Regions from separate parts of the Homo sapiens genome. Here region 1 is linked to region 2. Evidence: promoter capture Hi-C in human tissues and cell types (Jung and others, 2019). All regions are on one chromosome and are shown on one strand. The core of a region is centred on a gene start or on the middle of the fragment in contact, and the rest is flanking DNA. Distances in the headings are between cores, read along the strand shown. Region 1 overlaps LOC105375130 (a long non-coding RNA gene). Region 2 holds the start of LFNG (LFNG O-fucosylpeptide 3-beta-N-acetylglucosaminyltransferase).

The links. The method cuts DNA at HindIII sites, captures the fragments that hold promoters and counts their contacts. A contact is called where the count stands out against the background at its distance.
Region 1: a contact is called between a fragment that was not itself captured here and the fragment with the promoter of LFNG in region 2, in 1 of the 25 tissues and cell types used here (lymphoblastoid cells).

Annotation. Positions count from the first base shown.
Region 1 is chr7:3,093,711-3,099,292 of GRCh38, forward strand. It overlaps LOC105375130 (a long non-coding RNA gene), which reads right to left. Exons shown (of 2, transcript XR_007060191.1): 2 at 416-1,875. Among named protein-coding and RNA genes, the nearest start is that of CARD11, 53 kb to the left of the region's middle. The HindIII fragment of the contact is 3,745 bases long and covers 1-3,394 here.
Region 2 is chr7:2,518,524-2,523,390 of GRCh38, forward strand. LFNG (LFNG O-fucosylpeptide 3-beta-N-acetylglucosaminyltransferase) reads left to right here and starts at 1,251. Exons shown (of 8, transcript NM_001040167.2): 1 at 1,251-1,770. The coding sequence starts at 1,339. RefSeq lists silencers at 777-1,306, 1,317-1,426 and enhancers at 3,358-3,487, 3,528-3,587, 4,454-4,867. The HindIII fragment of the contact is 23,923 bases long and covers 1-4,867 here.

The sequences.
Region 1 (5,582 bases), core at 272-2,771, 580 kb after region 2:
GTACAGTGCAGGATTTGGACATCACAATTTTTTCTTCAGTAATGCCCCAAGGTTTCCCACAGATAAGAGGAGAAGGTTGGCCAGGTGTGGTGGCTCATACCTGTAATGGCAGCACTTTGGAAGGCTGAGGTGGGAGGATCACTTGAGCCTGGGTGTTTGAAATCAGTCTGGGTAACATAATGAGACCTCATCTCTATTAAAATTAAAAAACTAGCCAGGCATGGTGGTGAACACCTATAGTCCCAGCTACTCGGGAGGCTGAGGCAGGAGGATCACTTGAGCCCAGGAGGTTGAGGCTGCAGTGAGCCATGATTGTACCACTGCACTCCAGTCTGGGCCCCAGAGCAAGATCCTATCTCAAAAACAGCAACAACAAAAGAATAGGATGTTGCCAAAATAGGACAAACAACTGAGCTGAACGTTGGATGTTTTTAATCATAAGCATGGCTTGATTTACATCACTCCCTTCAGAAATGCAAAGGCTTCAGACATCGAGCCAAAGGCAAAACCATTGCAGGTATGTGGGGCCGGGAGAGCCCCAGCGAAGTCAGCTTGGTGCCCACTCCAGGCAGGCACAGGGCCAGCCCTGCTATGCTCCTTATCTCCTTTAATCCCCTAGCAACCCCAGAAGGTAGGTTTGTGATGATCCACACTCTGCAGATGAGGAAACTGAGGTTCAAGAGAGTTACTAACTTGCCCCTGGACATGCCCCTGGGAAGTGGCCGGGATGAGTTGGAAACCCATATCTACTTAGCTCCATGGTCCGGCTCTGTGTGCACTAAGACATCAATTACCCCCCGGGACTGGAAACCAGAAGGAGGCGGGCAATAGGTTGTGTTTGCTGACGGATCCCACCCAGAACTGATCCTACTGGATCTCCCTTAGGGAGACTCAGGAATCCTCACTACAGTGAATTACATGCACAGTTTTGGTGGCCAGAGGGGCATTTAGATGATGGCTACAGGAGTGCTTTTTTGAAAGCTTCATTAACTATACAAGTCAATACCCTATTGCAATTTCCATGAAATGGGTAATTCGGTGAAGTTCTTTTTTAACAAAATGTTGCATCAATGAGGGAATTCAGGGTGGGAGATCAACAGGAAGTTACAGTTGGAACCAATTTCAACCCACATAGAAAGATCCGGAAGCCTTGCAAGGAGACCATCACAGTAATCCGGCGTGAGAGTGCCGAGGCGTAGCTGCTGGAATCATCGCCCATTTTTCTAATTTGCAGCCTAGGAGCTGATCGTGCAACCCTGTTAGGGAGCTAATATAGGATGAAGATGGGACAAGTTGGTGTCGAGAGTAACACGCCGGCTCCTTAGCGGAGGTCTGAAGAACAATCGAGTTGAATTAATTTCTAAGAGACCCCATGACAGATTCTTGATGATGATCCCCAATTAGGGAAACCTCGGTTTCGTTTTTGTTTAATGTCAGGAAGTTAAGAGGCTGTGGGCGGATGGCTGTGAAAGACACGGAGGGTGAAAGCCTTGCCTCTCTTGAAACGTATGGGGCCGTGGCTGCAGGTCCTTTCATGCCTTCTCCAAAGAGGAAGTCGTGAAATCTGTGTGTCTCAGCCCATGTCCAAAGAGGGAAACGCTGTGATGAGAAGATACAGCGGTTCAACTCATTCTGGAGCCCACAGAGGCTTAAAAGAGGGGGAGAATCTGTTTCATGAAAAAGGGAAAGATTCAGTCTTGAACCAGATGAATGTGCCTGGGTGAAAATGCGTCAGTGGTACCAGAAAATCCAGACAGAATCCTTCCTCTGGGTTTTTCCCAAATCAACAAGTGTCTTTGGTTGCTGGGACGCAGGGAGAGAGCTGTTCATGGAGGAGCGTGGGAGGTCACATTCTTGAGGCCTGTTTAGTTTATCCTGTTAAAAGGAGGAGATGTGAGGCCAGGCACAGTGGCTCACACCTGTAATTCCAGCACTTTGGGAGGCCAAGGCAGGTGGATCACTTGAGGTCAGAGGATTGAGACAAGCCTGGCCAACATGGTGAAATCCCATCTCTACTAAAAATAAAACAAACAAACAAACAGAAACGCCTGGCGTGTTGGCTCACGCCTGTAATCCCAGCACTTTGGGAGGCTGAGGCAGGCGGATCACCTGATGTCAGGAGTTCAAGACCAGCCTGACCAACATGGAGAAACCCCGTCTCTACTAAAAATACAAAATTAGCCAGGGGTGGCTATGCATGCCTGTAATCCCAGGTACTCAGGAGGCTGAAGCAGGAGAATCGCTTGAACCCAGGAGGCTGAGGTTGCAGTGAGCCGAGATAGTGCCATTGCACTCCAGCCTCGGCAACAGAGTGAGACTCCATCTCAAAATAATAATAATAATAATAATAATAATAATAATAATACACCATATATTAGGGAAGAGATTTTTGTTTTTTTTTTAAACCACTTTCAGTCTCTTGATATCTCATTGCAAGTAAATAACCAAAGTACAGCCTGGTCTGGACAGGAGATCACCTCAATTTGGGGCAGCTCACACAATACAGTCTAAAATGTGGATGTTGCTGGGGGCGACCTCATTAGTCAGGCAGTCACCCCTGTGAGAGGGCGATGCGTCCCACTGCCAAGACGCTCAAGTACCAATATGGAATGCCAGTCCCTTAAAAGATTTTCCCTCCCTACGTCCCTGCGAAAGAGAGGCTGCCTGGATAATAGTCTTTCAATGTGTTGTGAAAAAAAAAATAGTGTTTCTAGCAAAAGTGTTAAAGTTTTATGGGAAAGTAAATTACTGTCTACCTGGTATAGATGCTTTTCGCGATGTAGCAGGCATTAATTACACATCTGAATGTGACAAGATCAGTCTTCGGTTTACTGAATTGAAGACGGTCTGCTCACCAGGAGGGGGTTTTCCTGAATATCATCAGGGTTCCTCCTCCTACTCCATGTCCGGTTTTACTGTGTACTCCTGGGATGGGATCTGAGGCTGGAAAGAGCTAGAAAACCCCTCCGAGTCCCCCCAGAGAGATGGTAGCCTGTACACCCAGGTGGATTTTGGTCACTGAAAGAATCAGTCTTCTTTTTTTCTCATCTTAAAATATCTGGACAAGGAAGTGGCTAGGATTATTGTGGGAGAAACTAGCTCATTGGTGGTTCTGGGATATGAACCCAGGATTCTCGGCCAGCATTCCAGCAACAGGGACTGATATGCTTTGGCTGTGTCCCCACCCAAATCTCATCTTGAATTGTAGCTCCCATCGTTCTCACGTGTTGTGGGAGGACCCGGCGGGAGATAATTGAATCGTGGGGGCGGTTTCCCCCCATACTGTTCTCATGGTAGTGAATCAGTGTCATGAGGTCTGATTTTATAAGGGGGAACCTCTTTTGCTTGGTTCTCATTCTCTCTTGCTTGCTGCCATGTAAGACGTGCCTTTTGCCTTCTGCCATGATTGTGAGGCCTCCCCAGCCATGTGGAACTGAGTCCGTTAAACCTCTTTGTCTTTATGAATCACTCAGTCTTGGGTATGTCTTTATCAGCAGTGTGAAAATGAACTAATACAAGGACCTTCCCACCCTGCACTCCACAAACACCTTTCAGCAGGCTTTTGTGACTCCCAATTTGAAAGTGCTGCATTCGTTCCTGATGTGAAATGATTTGCGTATAAAGGTAATACAAATCTGAACATTGCTTTTTTGCATCTCACAGAAGCAGAAACATTCTTCTAGAAGAATATGCAACGGCAGAGGATAAAAATGGCCTTTTGAGTCTTTCAGTCATGAAAAGATCTCCCCACCAAAAATACATGAGACCTCTTACCCTAGAACAGTGTTTCCCAAAGTAAGTTCAGTGTTGGTCACCTGTAGACAGGTTGGCTTCCAATACCCTGGCTCTTGACCCTGGAATTCTCCTGGATCACATGGTCGTGGAATGCTTTGGTTGTAAGTATGCCTTGGTGCCTGTCTTCCCTGATACATGCAAGATGTCTAAGAATAGAGGCTGTATCTATTGCGTTCATTATCATCATTCCCAGGATCCATCATGGTGCCTGCCACAAAGTAGATATATGATATTTTGGGATTGAAGGAAGGAGATTCTACATGGAAAAAAGGTTCCATGGTCAAGTACATTAGGAACTAGATAAAAAGCCTTCCTTTTGGGGGCTCACAAAACACCACTGGATAAGACACAGATGGAAAAAAAAGAAAAGCAGGTGTTTGCTCTGGCTTTTTGTCATTCTTGCTGCAGGACTTATCAGAACCTTGAATATGCTGATGTGTATGGTATCATCTCCAAGATAAGGCTGCAATGTGCAGTGGCCCCTGAAGTCACTTGATTGTGTAGCCTCCTCTCCTGGGATACTCAGTAACATTCAAAGGGAGCAGCTGGTAGGAAGGCCTGGAGAAACCCACCTAACGGACCCCTGAATTACAGGGATAGCCAAGGCAGCCCTAGAGAGGCCAGGCTGCTGGGAAGGGCACCAGATAGAAGCAATCTACAGACAGCCCAGAAAGCTGTCATTCCCTCACTCAATCAGCAGATGTTTCTATTTCTGTTAAAACAGGATCAATTCATTTTCCAATCATAAAAATAACAAGTGTGTACAGAAGCCCCATGCCTGTCTTGTTAAGCATTGAATCCTCAGTTTGACAAATATTTGCTGAATGAATAAACATATAATAAATGGTAAAGTAGTATTACAAAGAGAATACATTCTGCTATCAAACCATCCTGAGCACTTTCTTCTGTGACTACTTACCATAAATAAAAATTCCGTGGCGAACCTTATTAAAAATATACCGGGGCCGGGCGCAGTGGCTCACACCTGTAATCCCAGCACTTCGGGAGGCCAAGGCAGGTGGATCACCTGGGGTCAGGAGTTCAAGATCAGCCTGGCCAACATGGTGAAACCTCATCTCTACTAAAAATATAAAAAATTTGCCAGGCATGGTGGTGTGAGCCTGTAATCCCAGCTACTCAGGAGGCTGAGGCAGGAGAATCATTTGAACCCGGGAGGCGGAGGTTGCAGTGAGCCGAGATCGCACCATTGCACTCCAGCCTGGGCGACAAGAGCAAAACTCCGTCTCAAAATATATATATATATATACATACACATACAGATGTATGTTATGGCAGGGATCCCCAGTGCCTGGACCATGGACTGGAACTGGTCCATGGCCTGTTAGGAACCGGGCCGTACAGCAGGAGGTGACCAGCGGGTGAGTGAGCGAAACGTCATCTGTAGTTATAGCCGTTCCCCATCCCTCACATTACCACCTGAGCTCTGCCTCCTGTCAGATCAGCAGCCGCATTAGATTCTCATAGGAGCTCAAACCCTACTGTGAACTGCGCACGCGAGTTCTAGGTTGTGCACTCCTTATGAGAATCTAATGTCTGATGATTTGTCACTGCCTCTCATCACCCCCAGATTGGACTGTCTAGTTGCAGGAAAATAAGCTCAGGTCTCCTACTGTTTCTATATTGTGTTGAGTATAACTATTTCATTGTATATTACAGTGTAATAATAATAGAAAGAAAGTGCACGATAAATGTAATGCATTTGAATCATCCCCAAAGCATCCCCCTAAAACCACCCCCAGTCCGTGGAAAAAACTGTTTTCCATGAA
Region 2 (4,867 bases), core at 1-2,500:
ACTATGTCCCAAAACCTGTTCCAGGTCTGAATGACACCAGGTCGCTGCTGTCTTGCGGCTGACATTCAGGTAGAGGTAAGGAGAGGGGCTCCAAGGGCACTTAAAGAATTTAAAATGCCATCTCAGGCGTGAACATAACTCCGAGGGGGGCAGTTTAGCCACGGTGGTGGCGGTGGTGGTCGTGGTGGTCGCAGAGACCCTGCTTAGGAGGGCACGGGAAGACAGCGCAGCCACGGGCAGAGCCGCCTCCGTCCACGCTTCCGGAGGACGTGGCGGGCAGGGGGCTCACACCCTGCTCAGGCGACCCTTGGCCACTTCCGGGCCCCTCGCCCCTCACCCTCGGCTGCCGGCGCGCATTCCTGCCGCCCCCGCTCGTGCGAGGGGCGGGCCCGGGCCCGTGGGAAGGGCCGGGGATGGGGGCCGTGTGCCGGGGAGGCGGGGTGGGGAGGGCGCACAGCTGGGCCGCATCTGGCCCGAGCGCAAGGAGACCAAATGGGACAGAAGGCGGCCTTTCATCCGGCGAGGGAAGTGGCGGCCTTCGTTTCTCCTCGCCATGGGGCGCCTGAGGATTTCGGGGAGCCAACCCTCCCGACGGAGGGCCAGGATCGAGGAAATCAGCCAGGGAGGAAGGAGTGGAATTTGGTTCTGGTGCTTTCTCGTTAGAACCTCGTGTCCCCACCTGCGGCACAGGTGGCCAAGCTCTTGCTCTGTACAAATAACGGCTCCCCTGAACCGAGCGCTCGGGAAGACCCAGGCGCCACCCCAGTTTGCAAGGCCTGCCGCGTCCCAAGGGGAGGAAGCCGTGCTCAGGAGGGGAAGCGCACAGCGAGGAAGTAGGATGTCCCCCGCGGTGCGTCGGAGCCCAGAGCCCGGGTCTCAGCACCCTGCCCGCTGCGCCGAGGGCGCGCCCCTCCCGTGCCGGGACGCCCGGTGCATCCCCGGACGGCGCTGGCCAGGCTGGGTTTCCTCTTCAGGGACACCGGCGCGGGCCGGGCCCGTCCCCAAGCCCCTCGGCGGCCCGCAGGGGCTACCCGGGGCGGGGGGGGTGCGGGGCGTGCACGTGCGCGCCGGGGGCGGGGCCGCTGCGCCCTCTGGGCAGTTCCCAGCCCCCAGCCGCGGCCCCACGTGGGTCTGCGGGCGTGGAGCGGCGACCGGCGCGAGGCCCCGCCCCCGAGCCCGGGAGCCAATGAGCGCACGGGGGCGGGACCGGGGCGGGGAGGTTTAAGAGCGCGGGACACTGGTGCTGCGCTGCTGGACTGCGCCGCCGGAGCGACGGGCTTCGGGTCGGTGCAAGGCAGGCGCACGGGGAAGGGCGCGCCGCGCGGCCGCCACCCCACCATGCTCAAGCGCTGCGGCCGGCGCCTGCTGCTGGCGCTGGCGGGCGCGCTGCTCGCCTGCCTGCTGGTGCTCACCGCCGACCCGCCGCCGCCTCCACTGCCCGCCGAGCGCGGCCGGCGCGCGCTGCGCAGCCTGGCGGGCCCCGCGGGGGCTGCCCCGGCGCCCGGGCTGGGGGCGGCGGCGGCGGCGCCCGGGGCGCTGGTCCGCGACGTGCACAGTCTGTCCGAGTACTTCAGCCTGCTCACCCGCGCGCGCAGAGATGCGGGCCCGCCGCCCGGGGCTGCCCCCCGCCCCGCCGACGGCCACCCGCGCCCCCTGGCCGAGCCGCTCGCGCCCCGAGACGTCTTCATCGCTGTCAAGACCACCAAAAAGTTCCACCGCGCGCGCCTCGACCTGCTGCTGGAGACCTGGATCTCGCGCCACAAGGAGATGGTGAGCCCCCCGCGGCCTGGACTGGCGGGCGAGCGGGGCGGGGACCCACCATCTGGTCCAGCTGGTGGCAGTGTCCCATGGGAGTCAGGCTGCATCCCCATCCAGCCACTAGGGCCATCTGTGGGCGACGCCAGTGCACCCCGGTGCACCCAGTTTGCCTGCTGGGGCCACTCTCCCGTTACAGTTGTGTTACTGTCCCCGGGGCCCCGCCTCCTGTCCAGCTCCAGAGTCCTGGATGGCTGCAGGACCCTACACCAGTCTCCAGTGCTTGGGGTTGGTGCCCTGTGATACTTCTCACCCCGTAAACATTGGAGCGCATTCATAGGGCATTATGTCCTCAAACTTCCACAAGCAAATTCTGTTCGGACCCACCCTCAGCTCAGACCCCTTCCTGGGGAGAAAGGCTCTTCCTTTAGAGAAGTGAGGGGTTCTGACCTCTGGGCCCTTTCCTCATCACAGTGTTAAGGTACGGGGAGGGAGGGAAGTCATTGCTGGTTGGTGGGTCCTGGGGAGTACATCTCAAAGAACTCCAGGTTTTGGGGTCTGTGTGGGGACCCTCCCCGCACAGTGCAGTAGTCTCTGAGGCCTGCAACCTTGGGCACAGCCCACTTCAGTTGGGCATCAGCTTCTTACACACACATAATTAAGACACACCCCACTTTGAACATTTCCCTCGAGGCCACAGCAGGACGGTTGGGCTGGGGCGGGATGGGGACAGTGTGTGGGGCTTGCAGTCGGGGACTGGGGGGGTGTCTCTGGGCTGGGAGATGCAGAGGCATTTGCTGTGAGGGTGGGGGCTCAGGGAAGACCCTGCACGCCTTCCTCCCTGCTCAAACCCCGGAGACCCAGGGCCTTCTGACCTGGCGCTGTCCTGTTTTGGGGCACTGTGGGTGGGTGGGAGCAGGGCTTGGTGAGGTCATGAGGGCGACGGGGAGGGGCAGGGTCCTCCCTGGTCCTGGCGTGGGGAAGGGGCCCTGGGAACCCCATGGCAGCCTCCTGGGAACACAGCGTCCCATTCCCAGGGGCTCAGCGGGCTGGCGGGAGGGGGCGGCGGGGGCCGTGGGTTTTGTTTGGCGGCCGGGCCGTTAGGATTCCCAGCGCCGGGCGGCTCTCACGCCGGCCCCTTGGGCAAGGTAACAAAGCCCCTTTCTCCAGCGAGAAAGGCGTCGGGCCCCTTGTGTGCAGCTACGCGCTCCGTGGGAACCGCTGCTGGCGTGCTGGCCACTCAGGTTGCCTGGCGATGAGGGGACCAGCGGGCCCCCCCAGCATCTCTTACTGACAGTCCTTTTGGGGCACCATCCCTGAGCCTGGCCCCCCCACCCCCAGCACTCAAGCCTTACTGCTATGTGATCTTGGGCATCCTTCAGCCCCACTCTGGGCTACCACCAGCTCTGAGCACCTCTCATCTTGGAATTTGGGGCCTTTCTCCAACAGAGGGGATGTGGTCAGAGGGCTGGGCTGTGTGATCCTGAGCAAGACCTGGGGCCTCTCAGACCCTCACTCTGATCTCTGAAATGGGGGAACATGGTCCTTCCAGGAGCACGTTGTAAGAGACTGGCAAAGCCTGCAGGCATGGGGTGAACCCGGCGGGCACTCAGGGTCGAGGTGGGGGCCATCACTCCCTTGAGCCCTGAGGTCCCTACTGGAGGGTCACCCCACCAGGGGACAGGTTGAATCTGCCCTCAGCATCAGTTCACCAGCACACAGCAAGCAAAGACCCCCTTGTGGTGGGTGATGGGCAGGGGTCCTGGAAACCCACAGAAGAGGGCCCCCCTCTCCCAGCCCTGCACGGAATGACTCAGACATGGTCTGATGGGGGAGATAGAAAGATGTCAGGGCTGTGCGGGGGGAAAACCCCGAGAGGCTGTGTGAGGCAACAGTGGGCATCTGACCCACATGCTGGGGGAAGGGAGGGAGGAGGGAAGACTTCCTGGAGGAGGCGCCATTTGAGCTAGACTAAGAGTAAAAAAGTGCCCAGAAAGGGCACTCCATCCGGGCATGGTGATGACCACAGCATGGGGGTTGTGCAGGAAACTTCTAGCAACTGGAGTGGTGGCTGGGGGGAGGGTCGGTTGGTCAGCAGGGGCCGCGCTGAGATGGGCCTGGAGTCCAGGATGAAGAGCCTGGCCTTTGGCCCAGAGGTTCCCCGCCCCTCCCAGGAGCAGCCAGGCTGCCGCGCTGCCACCACAGCGGCCACAATTGCTGGGGAGAACTTGGCATCCTGTGTTTCTTTGAATCGCGGCTCCAGGAACAATGCTGCTTCCTGTGGGTGTCCCCCGGCCCCCGCCCCCGTCCACCCTCATCCACCCGGCTCTTCCTCCTGCAGCCCCGTCTTCGTCTGGAAAGTTAGGTGGCACTGGGGGGTCTGGGTCCCTAGAAGGCAGGGACTGGGCTGGTCTAGCACCGCCTCGGCCCCAGGGTATGACCTCAGGCTGGTGCCTGCACCTCTCTGGGCCTCAGTTTCCCCACTTGGGCCTCAGCTGGTAATGGCACCCACCTCCGAGGGCTGTCAGGGAGAGGAAGGGAGAGAATCTGTCTTTGCACTTTGTTCTCTGCCCAGGGGAGCTCTGTTATGCCCATTTTACTGAAGACGAGACTGAGGCTCTGAGCGGCAGGTGAGGCCTATAGCCCAGCAGCGCCTTTTTCCTCCCCTCCTGGTGGCTCAGGTGTCGGGAGACAGTTCGACCGGCACCCCCGCACCCCATAGCCCCGCCTTCTCAGATGCTGTTCTAGAGGCCTCCCTGCTCCCTGAGCTGAACAAAGGTGACTTTAATCTCCGTAGCCTTGGGCTGGGTTTTTAGGGCACCACCAAATCTCGGGAGAACAGGCCTCCCTTGATCTCATTAAGAAAGCATTTTCCTTTTAACCCAGCGGCGCAGTGGAGCGTCTGCAGGGGCTGGCCCTCCGCCTCCCACGGCATTCCTGGGCTGAGATTCTGGGGAGGCCAAGGGGCTGGGTGCGAGTCTGTGCGTGTGGCTGCCCTGGGGTGTCTATGGGTGCTGCAGGAGGGGTGCATGCATGGAGAGGCGGAGACCCAGCCTGCCACCCCCTTAGCTCTGGGCCTCACCCTAGTGAGCATGTGCCCAGGGCTGGGTCA